Linked DNA regions of Homo sapiens: region 1 is linked to region 2. Evidence: promoter capture Hi-C in 16 types of primary human blood cells and fetal thymus (Javierre and others, 2016). All regions are on one chromosome and are shown on one strand. The core of a region is centred on a gene start or on the middle of the fragment in contact, and the rest is flanking DNA. Distances in the headings are between cores, read along the strand shown. Region 1 holds the start of EMP1 (epithelial membrane protein 1). Region 2 overlaps BORCS5 (BLOC-1 related complex subunit 5).

Evidence for each region. Contacts are between HindIII fragments. The CHiCAGO score rates a contact against its expected background, and 5 or more counts as called.
Region 1: the fragment with the promoter of EMP1 here is called in contact with a fragment that was not itself captured in region 2 in 1 of 17 cell types (naive B cells); the score reaches 5.3 in naive B cells.

What each region holds. Positions count from the first base shown.
Region 1 is chr12:13,193,074-13,198,950 of GRCh38, forward strand. EMP1 (epithelial membrane protein 1) reads left to right here and starts at 3,653. Exons shown (of 5, transcript NM_001423.3): 1 at 3,653-3,799. RefSeq lists an enhancer at 5,693-5,877. The HindIII fragment of the contact is 10,564 bases long and covers 1-5,877 here.
Region 2 is chr12:12,357,809-12,363,560 of GRCh38, forward strand. BORCS5 (BLOC-1 related complex subunit 5) reads left to right here. Exons shown (of 4, transcript NM_058169.6): 2 at 3,398-3,541. Among named protein-coding and RNA genes, the nearest start is that of BORCS5, 3.6 kb to the left of the region's middle. RefSeq lists an enhancer at 620-699. The HindIII fragment of the contact is 194 bases long and covers 4,406-4,599 here.

The DNA of each region.
Region 1 (5,877 bases), core at 2,403-4,902, 830 kb after region 2:
ACAAAGCGAGACCCCGTCTCAAAAAAACAAACAAAAACAAACAAAAAACCCAAAAAACAACAAAAACACCCCCAAAAACCATAAAGAAAGCCAGAAGAAAGCCTGAGAGAGAAATAGAGAGAGGAGAGTTGGAGAAAGAAAGAAAGGAAAGGGAAGGAATACAACATTTCTGGTAAATTCTCAAATTTCAAAGAGGAGTTGTGAGGAACAAACATTCCTTTGACTTGGGAAGATACTGTGTAACTTTTTCCCCCATTCTATTTACCTTCCAAGCAGTGTGTGCTAATATTAATATTGACATCCCTGTTCATATAATAGCTTTGGGGAACATGTTGCATAGTTTGGGATTCTTTTCGGTTAACTGAGTTTGAACAAAAACAAGTTCAAGCTATTATTAGTTTTCTTTTCTGTGGGCTGTAGGGGCCAGACCTGCCTTAGTAGACTTCTTGTATCAGTCATTAAAAGCCTTCGTTTCATGCATTCATTAAAATGTTTACGCCGGTTCAAACTTGAAAATCTGCCCCAAATGGCAACGTGCCAGAAGTTGATTCTTGTTGCTTCCGAAAAAGGGGAAAATATCCCTTTGCTGGAGTAACATTTGCACTGGGTGAGAGAGACATTCCCTCCCAAGAATATATGGCTTTATTGAGTGAGGTCAAATGAAACTTTGTCCGGTTCTTTGCCCATGCAGAAAATGAATGTGTCTAATTTACCTTCCAAATGGGGGAAATGGGAGCAGAAAGGCAGCTTACTCGACATTGTTTGGAAAGACCATATAAACGCCAGGGGAGCTGTATCTCCAGCCCCATGTGGTTTTAGGCCCTGAACCGTTTACTGTCTGTAGTCTCAAAATTGTCTGCTCATAGCCAAAGGAACACTCAGGCTTAACGAGTTAATCACATCCAGAGGCACAAAAAGCTAGAACTTCAGCCAGAACAGATCCAATTGCTTTCCCAGACTGGATAACTTTGTTTTATAAAATAAGCTCAGTGATATTTCAAGGGTTAATTATAAGTCTTTAGAAATCCTGGACTTGCATTCATCTTTTAAAAATATTTACACAACTTGGCTTTCTATGGCACCACTCTGTGTGTGCATGTGTGCATGTGTGTGTGCGTGCATGTGTTTTTGCATGTGTGCATGGGTGTGTTTTCACAGCTCAATGCATTTAATATTTTCTCTCCAAACCTAGACATCTCCAAAAGCACACAGGAAGGTGAGATTTATCAGACCCATTTGGAAGGTGATGCTGTCTACTCACTTTAAGGTGAAATGGAGGCAGGCAGATGCCTCGCTCACAGCCACTGCCAGGTAGTAGGCGTGGAAACTGGGCCTCCTGCTTTCTGGGTCCTGTTTTGAAGCCCGTCCCTGAGCCCAGCGTCTCTCTTTGTGAAATCCATGGAAATCCAGATAGACTGAAGGATTCCTCTACTCAAGTACTTTAAGAAAAGTTCCTGATTTTTCCCCTTGTTAAGCCCGAGAAGGAGGTGGGAGGGAGAATGCCTCCCCTCTGCTATTCCTTGGCTCCAGGTTTCTCTTTAAGAAATGCAATCAGACCACATACTCCTCAGCATCTGAGAACACTTCCTCTGGAGTCCAGTTCTCCTTTCCAGGCAGCTGAGGGAAGAGAGACTTTAAAACTGGCAGAGGGCATCAGGGGTGAAAGGCAACCCTGAGAGTAGGAAAAGGCCAGGGAGACAGGCCGATTCCAGCAGGGGAGACTGGCCCATCTGGAGCGCCAGCACATGCCTGGGGATTTCCTGGCCTCACCTGCAGACACCCTCCCCTCCCTGAGGGTTGGGATGCTCAGAGATCACAGGGACTCTCAACCCACTGCTGGGAGTGGCCCCTCTCAGACAGGCATTTTTATTATCAAATGAGCAATGAGAGAGGGGAGAGGTGAGGAACTCTATGAGAAACATGCAGTCTTTTATCACGTCATCAGTTTTCAGTGAGAAAATCCAGACCTTCTTACTTTTACAGAGATAGAATTCAGTTCTCAGGGACTTGTGAAGATGCAGCATCATCAAATCATTGTGTGTGTGTGTGTGTGTGTGTGTTGTGTTTTCCTTATCATCCACCTTAGAAAATATTCTCCACATTCCCATGTTAAAATATTTTTTCCTAAAATCCATCCATCCACATGCCAACATCCTAAAGACAGTAATATAGGTTCATTGCAGAGGATTTGGAAAATACAGAATTGTGACCAGAACAAACTAAACTGCATCCATAATTTTATCATCGAATTTGATCAACATTTTGGTGAATAGCCACCAGTCTGTTTTCTATCTTTTTAGGGAATATAAGTTCCAAGAGGCAGGGATGTCATTCACTTCTGTGACTCAGTGCTCTGAATCAGGCCCAGTGAAGACTGACGTGCAGCCTGTATTGGCAGAATGAATGAATAAATACTACACACGCATATTTTGAATTGAAATAAGTTGTCAGGGTGCAGCAGAGAATAACAGAAATAGAATTGCTTGGATGTGCTGACCTAGATCCAAGCTGCTACTGGTAACGTACTGTATCTCCTTGAATAAGTCACTTCACCTCTCTGGGCCTGAGCTGCTTCTTCAGTAAAATAATCCTTGTAGCTAAGATTTGTTGAGCGCTCACTATGCACACTGCCATGAGCCCCTATATGTGTATTTCTCATCATAGCTCTATGAGTTACATACCTGCCATCTCCATTTTATGCATGAGAAAATAGGCATGGAGAAGTTAAGTGGTTTGCCTAAAGTCACACAGCAAATTTGTGGAGAGCTGGGCTTGAACTCAGGCATCTGGGCTTTTACTCTCTCCAGTGGAATGCCTGGGCTGTGGGATGAGATGACTTCACAGGCCTCTCCCAGCTCCAGAGTTGAGAGAGAGAGAGGAGTGGTGCAGGGAGGTAGTAGGGATGATTATGCTACTGGCCAAGTTCAAGAAAGTCAATTGTAGAACAAGGTCCAGCTGATTATTACAGAGAGCAAAGTTCTTAACTAGAGGACTTCCTCCTGGAATGTGGAGAGTCCACACGGGCACTAGCAGAGCATAATGAAAGACCAGGAATTCTCTGCTGTTCAATCAGTGCTCCATCACTCAGAGGCAGGGCTGCAAGAGCTCCTAGTGTGTCCCCTTCGCCTTCAGGGCCTCCCTGTACAGCCACCCACAGGACAGTGCACCAGGGTCAGGCAGGGAAGTAAATAAAAAAAGGAATCTGATAATTCCTGACAGTGAGCAGCAGCTGATGCTTTTAATGGGGGAGGAAGACTGGGAATCTCGCTTGATGATGACCTAGGACTTCAGTCAGCAGGACACTGGCCCCTTTCCTCCCCCTCCCAGGCTGAAACCTTGTGTTTTGCCTTATGTCCATGGTAACCAAGTCTCCTTTTTGGTGAGGAGGAATGGGCTTCAGTAAACAGATCTATTTGTGTGATCCTGTTACTCATTTGAAGCAATGTCCCTCCTTTTTTCCACTGTGGTCTGTGTGTCTGAGTCAGAGAGAGCCTACAACAGGGTTCTTTGAATTGATGGCTCACTCCCAGCCACTCTTGACTGACTGCCAGCTTAGCAGGGCGTAGCTTACCAACAAATCTTTTTTTTTTTTTTAAAGCCAGACTGATTCATAGAAACTCCTTTAAAACACGGTGAAAAGAAACCGCCCATTACACACCCCAGTACACCAGCAGAGGAAACTTATAACCTCGGGAGGCAGGTCCTTCCCCTCAGTGCGGTCACATACTTCCAGAAGAGCGGACCAGGGCTGCTGCCAGCACCTGCCACTCAGAGCGCCTCTGTCGCTGGGACCCTTCAGGTAGGACAGCTCCCAACGCTGTGGGGACTCTCAGCAAAACTTCTCCTTCCTTTCCACGGCTCTGCTTCTTCTGACCTCATCTTAGTTTTGCTTTTTCTTTTCTTCCTTCGCTATTTTTCTATGATCCTCTAAGAACCAAGTCCTTGAAACTTTTGGCTCAAAGTGGATACAGAGACAACTTTTTCTAGAAAGTTCAGAAAAGTGTATTTTGAGGACGGAGTCTGGGGAAATCAATGGGATGGGGCTAAAATCGTGCCTGGCAGTGACCGGGTTCTTGTTCTAGGATGTGGAGGGAGCAGGGACTTTGAAACAAACTGGGATAGGATCCTGTTTATGGAGGAAACACCACACACCTTGGAAATGACATCGGGAACTGGCCAGATGTTTTTCACCTCCTCCGTTTTGATTCCGATTGCTTCAGGACTTGAACTGTTACTCTGCTCGCTGGTTGTTGGTTGGGATTTTTTGGGTGGTGGTGGATAGATAACTGGTTTTCAGTTTATTTTTGACATTGCTTTTCCTGCCTGTTTGCTTCCCTATTCACTTCTGTTTAAATTTAAGTATTTTTTTTCTCCTCACAGGATGGGAAGAGGGGGATTGGTTTGTTTAAAGAAAACTGTTGGCCGGGCACGGTGGCTCATGCCTGTAATCCTAGCACTTTGGGAGGCTGAGGCGGGCGGATCACCTGAGGTCAGGAGTTCAAGACAAGCCTGGCCAACATGGTGAAACCCTGTCTCTACTAAAATACAAAAAGTAGCCAGGCATGATGGCAGGTGCCTGTAATTCTAGCTACTTGGTAGGCTGAGACGGGAGAATTGCTTGAATCCGGGAGATGGTGGTTGCAGTGAACTGAGATTGCGCCACTACACTCCAGCCTGGGCAGCTGAGTGAGACTCTGTCTCAAAAAGGAAAAAAAAGAAAAAGAAAAAAAATGAAAAAAGAAAACTGTTAGAGAGAGAAAGAGAGGGAGGCAAATGGTGTTTTAAATGAAACGTGGGAGGGGTTCACTTGGTCGAAGCAGGAGCTGATGAGGATTCCAGATGCCTTCTCTTGGCCAGATGTGGAGGGCGGGGGAGGCAAAAGGGAAGCTGGGTTTGGAGAAGAGGGTGGGGCAGGAGAACTTCATCTGTGCCTGTTAAAAATTGTTGAGTGGCTTTGTGCTTTCACCCCAGAAAGAGCTGCCTTTCAGTGCTGAGTGAAAAGATGGCATACCAGAAACGATAAAAGAACTTTTAAAAGAAAGTGGATGTGGAATTTCTTTGCATGGAAGGCAGTGATTGTTTTGAAATGCTTATCTTTTCTCTTGTTCCCGAAATGTGATTGTATAAATGCAAACACTCATGCTAATCATGAAATCTGGAGGAATGAAGAAGGGTGCTTTTTCTTTTTTTTCTTTTTTTCTTTTTTTCGGTTAGCATTTTGGGTGAGTGTCTACCGAGGTGTGGCCCATTTCAACATAGACACTGGTATATTTTTTCCCCAAGTAAACAAGATGAGAATGACAGGATTCAGCTTGTCTGACAAAGTTAGGCTTTTCCTTTAGAAAGGCAGTACGTTGGGAGAGAAGTTACATGTAATCAACCCTGTGTTGAGCAGGCAATGCTCCTTGTAAAACTGCCCCAAGGGGGACGATTGAGTAGGCATCAGGGCAACTTTTCAAGATGAAGGGAACTCCTACATTTGCTTCACATGTTTATTATTTCCACATTACATGGATGTGGATTAGCCATTATTAAATCAATAGTGTTAATATCCTGTGAAAATTATACAAATCTTTTAGTTCTGTGCAGGTTAAAACTAATAACCAGTCAACACACGGAAAGCCCTGACAATGTTGGGAGTGTAAACCATCATGAACTGCATTATTTGTGGCAAGGTTTCACATGATACTGTAGGTTTATAAAGGAGAAAATATGCTACATGTTACTTCCTGGAGTTTGAAGACAATTTAGAAAAATACCGTTCTGATTCCTGCTCTCTGCTCTTCCTCCAAGAAGTAGTGAAAGAGTCCCTTAGCTGTGAGAGTTTTTCTGGATTTCAGCTTTGACAATCCCGAAATGTGAGGGTTATTTTTCCCC
Region 2 (5,752 bases), core at 3,253-5,752:
CTCATGGCTGATGTAGTGAGATTTGGCTCACACAGTGGATGGATTATAGGACCTCTAAGAACAGTCTGTTTCTTAAAAACGGGTGTTAGAGGTTCCTTTTCTGAAGGGATATGTGATAGGTGTCCACTTGCTTTGAACCCTTTAGTGCAAAGGTCTCCAGAAACAGCTTTTTCTTCTCAGAAGGTGTCTTGGTCCGTTTTCTAATCTTGTAGAGGTTGGCCAGACAGCAGGCACTGGTGTTTTCCATTGTTGTTCTCTGTCCATGATTTTTAGACTTCTCTAAGCGTTTGAGACAAGAATGGGAGGATTATTGTGTTTGCAATACAGTGAGTGTTCAATAAATAGATAAAGCAGCTGATGTTTAATTGAGGACCATTTGCTGCTTTTTTTGTTACCCACACGCTAGGACAGCTGGGAGTGCTTTGGTTAAGCTCCGGGGTTGCTAACGCAAATTGGTTAAATCTGGGGCCTAAAAAGAGTCGCCGATTTTAGAAGTTCTCTGTTCTTGATAGGAGCTGTAATTCAGAAATAGGCAAGCTAATAGATCTAAGGGTGTTTCACTTTAAGGTGTGACTTTCAAGACTAGTTCAGACCTACATTCTGGGGACTGGATTGGGGCAGCTTTGAATGGTGAGCAGCATCTACTAGCTTTGCTACGTTTTTCTATTTCCTTGGAAGGGCCAGAGTGTCATATCTGTTATAAGAAATATAATAATTGCCACCTTTGACATTCTTGCCTCTATGGCAGGGCAGAAACATATTTTAGGGGGAAGCGGTGTGGCATCTTTTTAATTTGTTTTCTTGCCCATGAACCAACAGCATTCGAGCATTTCCGATGTTAGAATTTGCCTATTCCCCTGTGCCCGGTACTTTACATACATTTACATATAATTTTTGCAGTAATCCCATTTTACAGATAAAGTAGTAGAGGTTAGCTAGAGTGTTTTGAAGTCCCCTTTCCTCTGGTATCTGGGGAAGGAGGAATCACAATTTATAGCAGGAAAGATTTCTGGCATGGCTTTTGTAAAATGTTAGGTAAATTACCAAAACAGGTAAATAAATATTTCTTGAAAAGAAATAAAAGCAGCAGAGATTTTTCTAGAAGAGTGAATGCCAAGCCTCCGGAGACGAGCTTCTAGGAGGCAGAACAGTTCTATGGCATCCCTGGATTAACCTTTGAGATATGACTATAATGAGCCTGGGAATATTACCTTCTAGAGCATAAAACACTTTAAAGATTCATTCTTGTCCCAGTCTGGAAGATATTTGGGGGAGAGGATGATTTCTTGGTCTAGGGAGTCCTTTATAATTTGAATCACTTCCCTCCAAATGGATTACTTTCTCCCAAGGAACCTGAATTGATCTCCCTCTTTGTCCTCCAAATTTCTGATTTTTGCCTCAGCCTAGAATGGACTTACTGGCTATTTTTGCCCTGGACTAATGCTATAATTTTAAGAGTGAGGGGGCTGTAGTCCTAGCTACTCAGGCCCAGGTGGGAGGATTGCTGGAGCCCAGGAGTTTAAATCCAGCCTGGGCGATGTAGTGAGACTTGACTCTTTTTTTTTTTTTTTTTTTGAGACAGTCTCACTGTCACCTAGGCTGGAGTGCTGTGGCATGATCTTGGCTCACTGCAACCTCCGCCTCCCGGATTCAAGCAATTTTCCTGCCTCAGCCTCCCAAGTAGCTGGGATTACAGGGACATGCCACCACGCCTGGATAATTTTTGTATTTTTAGTAGAGATAGGGTTTCACCATGTTGGCCAGGCTGATCTCGAACTCCTGACCTCAAGTGATCCACCTGGCTTGGCCTCCCAAAGTGCTGGGATTACAGGCGTGAGCCACCGTGCCCAGCCGCCTTGACTTAAAAAAAAAAAAAAAAGAGTGAGGAGGCTGAAGCCTCGGGAATAGGCCAGTCATTCGGGGGTTGAGAACAGGTTTTTTTCCTGGACTTACTAAACATAGCTGGCTTGATGTGGTAGGGTGGATAGACAGCTTTGCAACTCCAGTGTCGCAGAGATGGGCCTTGTGTACCAATAACTTGTAGATGTCTAATTCCTTTCCTAACTGTCTAGCACTGCTGACTTTGGGCAAGTCACAGTTAAATTTTGTACCCTTTATTTCTCATTTTAGAAATAGGGAGATATATATATATATCTCAAGATAGCAGGAGAATTAAAGAGAAAGTAAAAACAATCTGCCTATACTTTTGTGTGCTGAAAAAGAAAATATTTAGTTATGAAAGAAGTTCATTCATGTTATATAATCCTGTAATGGGCTGGGCGTGATGGCTCACACCCGTAATTCTAGCACTTTGGGAGGCCGAGGTGGGTGGATCACGAGGTCAGGAGTTCGAGACCAGCCTGGCCAATATGGTGAAACCCCATCTCTACTAAAAATACAAAAATTAGCCAGATGTGGTGGTGCATGCCTGTTGTCCTAGCTACTCAGGAAGCTGAGGCAAGAGAATTACTTGAACCCAGGAGGCGGAGGTTGCAGTGAGCCGAGATTGCACCACTGTACTCCAACCTGGCGACAGAGCGAGGCTCTGCCTCAAAATAAAATAAAATCCTGTAATGTCTGAGGGTTTTTGTTGTTGTTGTTGTTTTGTTTTTTGAGACTCTTGCTGTCTTACCCATGCAGTGGTGTGATCATGGCTCACTGTGGTCTTGACCTCCTGGGCTCAAGTGATCCTCCCATCTCAGCTTCCTGAGTAGCTGGGACTACAGTGTGCACCACCACATCTGACTAATTAAAAGAAATTTTTTTTTTTTTTTTTTTTTTTTTTAGAGATAGGGTCTCACTATGTTGCCCAGGTTGGTCTTGAACTCCTGGACTCTGGTGATCCTCCCACTCAGCCTTTCAAAGTGCTGAGATTACAGGCATGAGCCACCACACCCAGCCTGAGGTGGCGTTTTTGTTTGTTTGTTTTTGAGACAGAGTCTCACTCTGTTGCCCAGGCTCAAGTGCAGTGGCACGATCTTGGCACACCGCAACCTCCGCCTCTCGGGCTCAAGTGATTCTCCTGCCTCAGCCTCCTGAGTAGCTGGGATTACAGGCACCCGCCACCATGCCCCGCTAATTTTTGTGTTTTTAGTAGAGACAGGGTTTCGCCATGTTGGCCAGGCTGGTCTTGAACTGCTGACCTCAGGTGATCTGCCCACCTCGGCTTCCCAAAGTGCTAAGATTACATGCATGAGCCACCGTGCCTGGCTCCAGCCTGAGCTTTTAAAAATACTATAGAAAACAGTTTCTATAATTCATCCCTGCCACCCCAACCCCAACTGCAAGATAGCTACATTTTATAAAATTATTCTTTTTAATCACTACACCAAAAACTGCTTTGGTGAGGCAGAGATGCCTAATATGCATCTCCTAAGCAGTGTAACTTTATTTTCAGTGACTCCTTCACCAGCCAAGCATAGAGCCAAGATGGATGATATTGTGGTTGTAGCTCAGGGCTCCCAGGCCTCACGGAACGTCAGCAACGATCCCGATGTCATCAAGTTGCAAGAGATTCCAACCTTCCAGCCCCTTTTGAAAGGTAAAGGATTGCGTTTTGTTTTATCTGAACTTGCTGGAGACGTTTGTGTAGCCCTACTACTTTCCCTCTACTTATCCATGTATCTTGCTCTCTCATCTCCTTTAGGTCTTTGCTTAAATGGCATCTTCTCAGTGAAGCCTTTCTTGATTTCCTTAATTAAAACTGCAGCCCCTTTGCCTACCTGTTTTTCTCTATAGCACTTAATTATCATTGACCTATTGCAAATATCTTTATCTGTCTATATTTCTCTGCTAGAATGTGAGCTCCATGATGGCAGGTATTTTCTCTTTTGCTCACTGTTGAATTCCCAGCACGTGAAATATAATCTGGTATAAGATAGGGACTAAGTGAATGAATGAGGTTGGAAATGGCCCTTCCCTGTTATATTCCCATGGAAAGATTTTCATTCTTATTTGTGATCTGGACAGTGGGTGGACTAGTTCAGATCCATAGAGAAAAATCTCCATCACTACTGATACACTCGTAATTAATCCTGGCGGCAGTTTTATATGAGAGTGTGTGTTTGAGAAGAGAGATTACCCACCCAATTAGCATATACTGTGGTAGTTACCTTTTGAACGAAGGCCACAACTTTATTATTTTTGTATCTCTATTAAGTAGTGGAGATTATTTTATATTAACTGGTGTTTCTGCTGTAAGAGTCCTTCAGTTCTCTCCTCCCTCACCCCCACCAAAGATTAGGAAATAATGAACATAAGGCCCTGGTTTACTTAACTTGGTATAATACAGTGTAAAACATCTTACATTTACATAGCTATTTGAATTAAAATGCCCCTCCTCATACACATATCATCCCTTTAATTCTTACATCATTAAATGTGTTTCAATGATTGGGGTAAGATAAGCTTCTTATAAGCCTTTTATAAGGCAGCTGGCATACACAGAGGTTGTACTTGAACCTTCTTCATTGATGTCAAATCCTATATTACACTGTTCCACACTATTTAGAAAACAAAAACAAATGGTGCTTTATAGATGATCCATATATTGTCTTATTCTTACCAGTGCTTCATCTGTTTCATAAATAAGGAAATACAAGCTTTCAGTTTCTTTTTTATTATTATTTAAGTTTTAGTGTACATGTGCACAACATGCAGGTTTGTTACATATGTATACATATGCTATGTTGGTGTGCTGCACCCATTAACTCGTCATTCACATTAGGTATATCTCCTAATCAATTTCTTCCCTACAGGCCTGAGAGTTAGACTTTGGTAAACATTCTGGCTCTTATGTAAAACAACACATTATATCATGTTACTCATCTTTTTTTTTTTTTTTTTTTTTTTTTTAGAGTTTTGCTCTGTCACCCAGGCTGGAGTGCAATGGCTTGATCTTGGCTTACTGCAACCTCCACCTCCCAGGTTCAAGTGATTCTCCTGCCTCAGCCTCCTGAAGTAGCTGTGATTACAGATGCCTGCCACCACGCCAAGCTAAATGTTTTTATTATTATTATTTTTAGTTGAGATGGGGTTTCACCATGTTGGCCAGGCTGGTCTCGAACTCCTGACCTCAGGTGATCCACCCACCTCGGCCTCCCAAAGTGCTGGGATTACAGGCGTGAGGCACCTTGCATGGCCTACTCATCTTCTTAGTTTTCATGATTTTGAGGAATAATGTGATTCTCTAAAGAAGTTAACAATAGTAGGGCATGGTGGCTCACACCTGTAATTCCAGCACTTTGGGTGGCTGAGGCAGGAGGATCACTTGAGTCCAACAGTTCAAGACCAGCCTGGGCAACACAATGAGACTCTGTCTCAACAGATAATACAAAAAATTAGCCAGGCATGGTGGCACATACCTGTCGTCCCAGCTAGTTGGGAAGCTGTTGTAGAAGGATCGCTTGAGCCCAGGAGGTCAAGGGTGCAGTGAGCAGTAGTCATGTCAGTACACTTCAGCCTAGGTGACAGAGTGAGATCCTGCCTCAAAAGAAAAAAAAAAAAAGCCGGCCAGGCGCTGCGGCTCATGCCTATAATCCCAGCACTTTGGGAGGCCGAGGTGGGTGGATCACCTGAGGTTAGGAGATCAATACCAGCCTGGCCAACATGGTGAAACCCCATTTCTACTAAAAATACAAAAAATTAGGCCGGGCGCAGTGGCTTACGCCTGTAAAACAGCACTTTGGGAGGCCAAGGCGGGTGGATCATGAGGTCAGGAGATCGAGACCATCCTGGCTAACACGGTGAAACC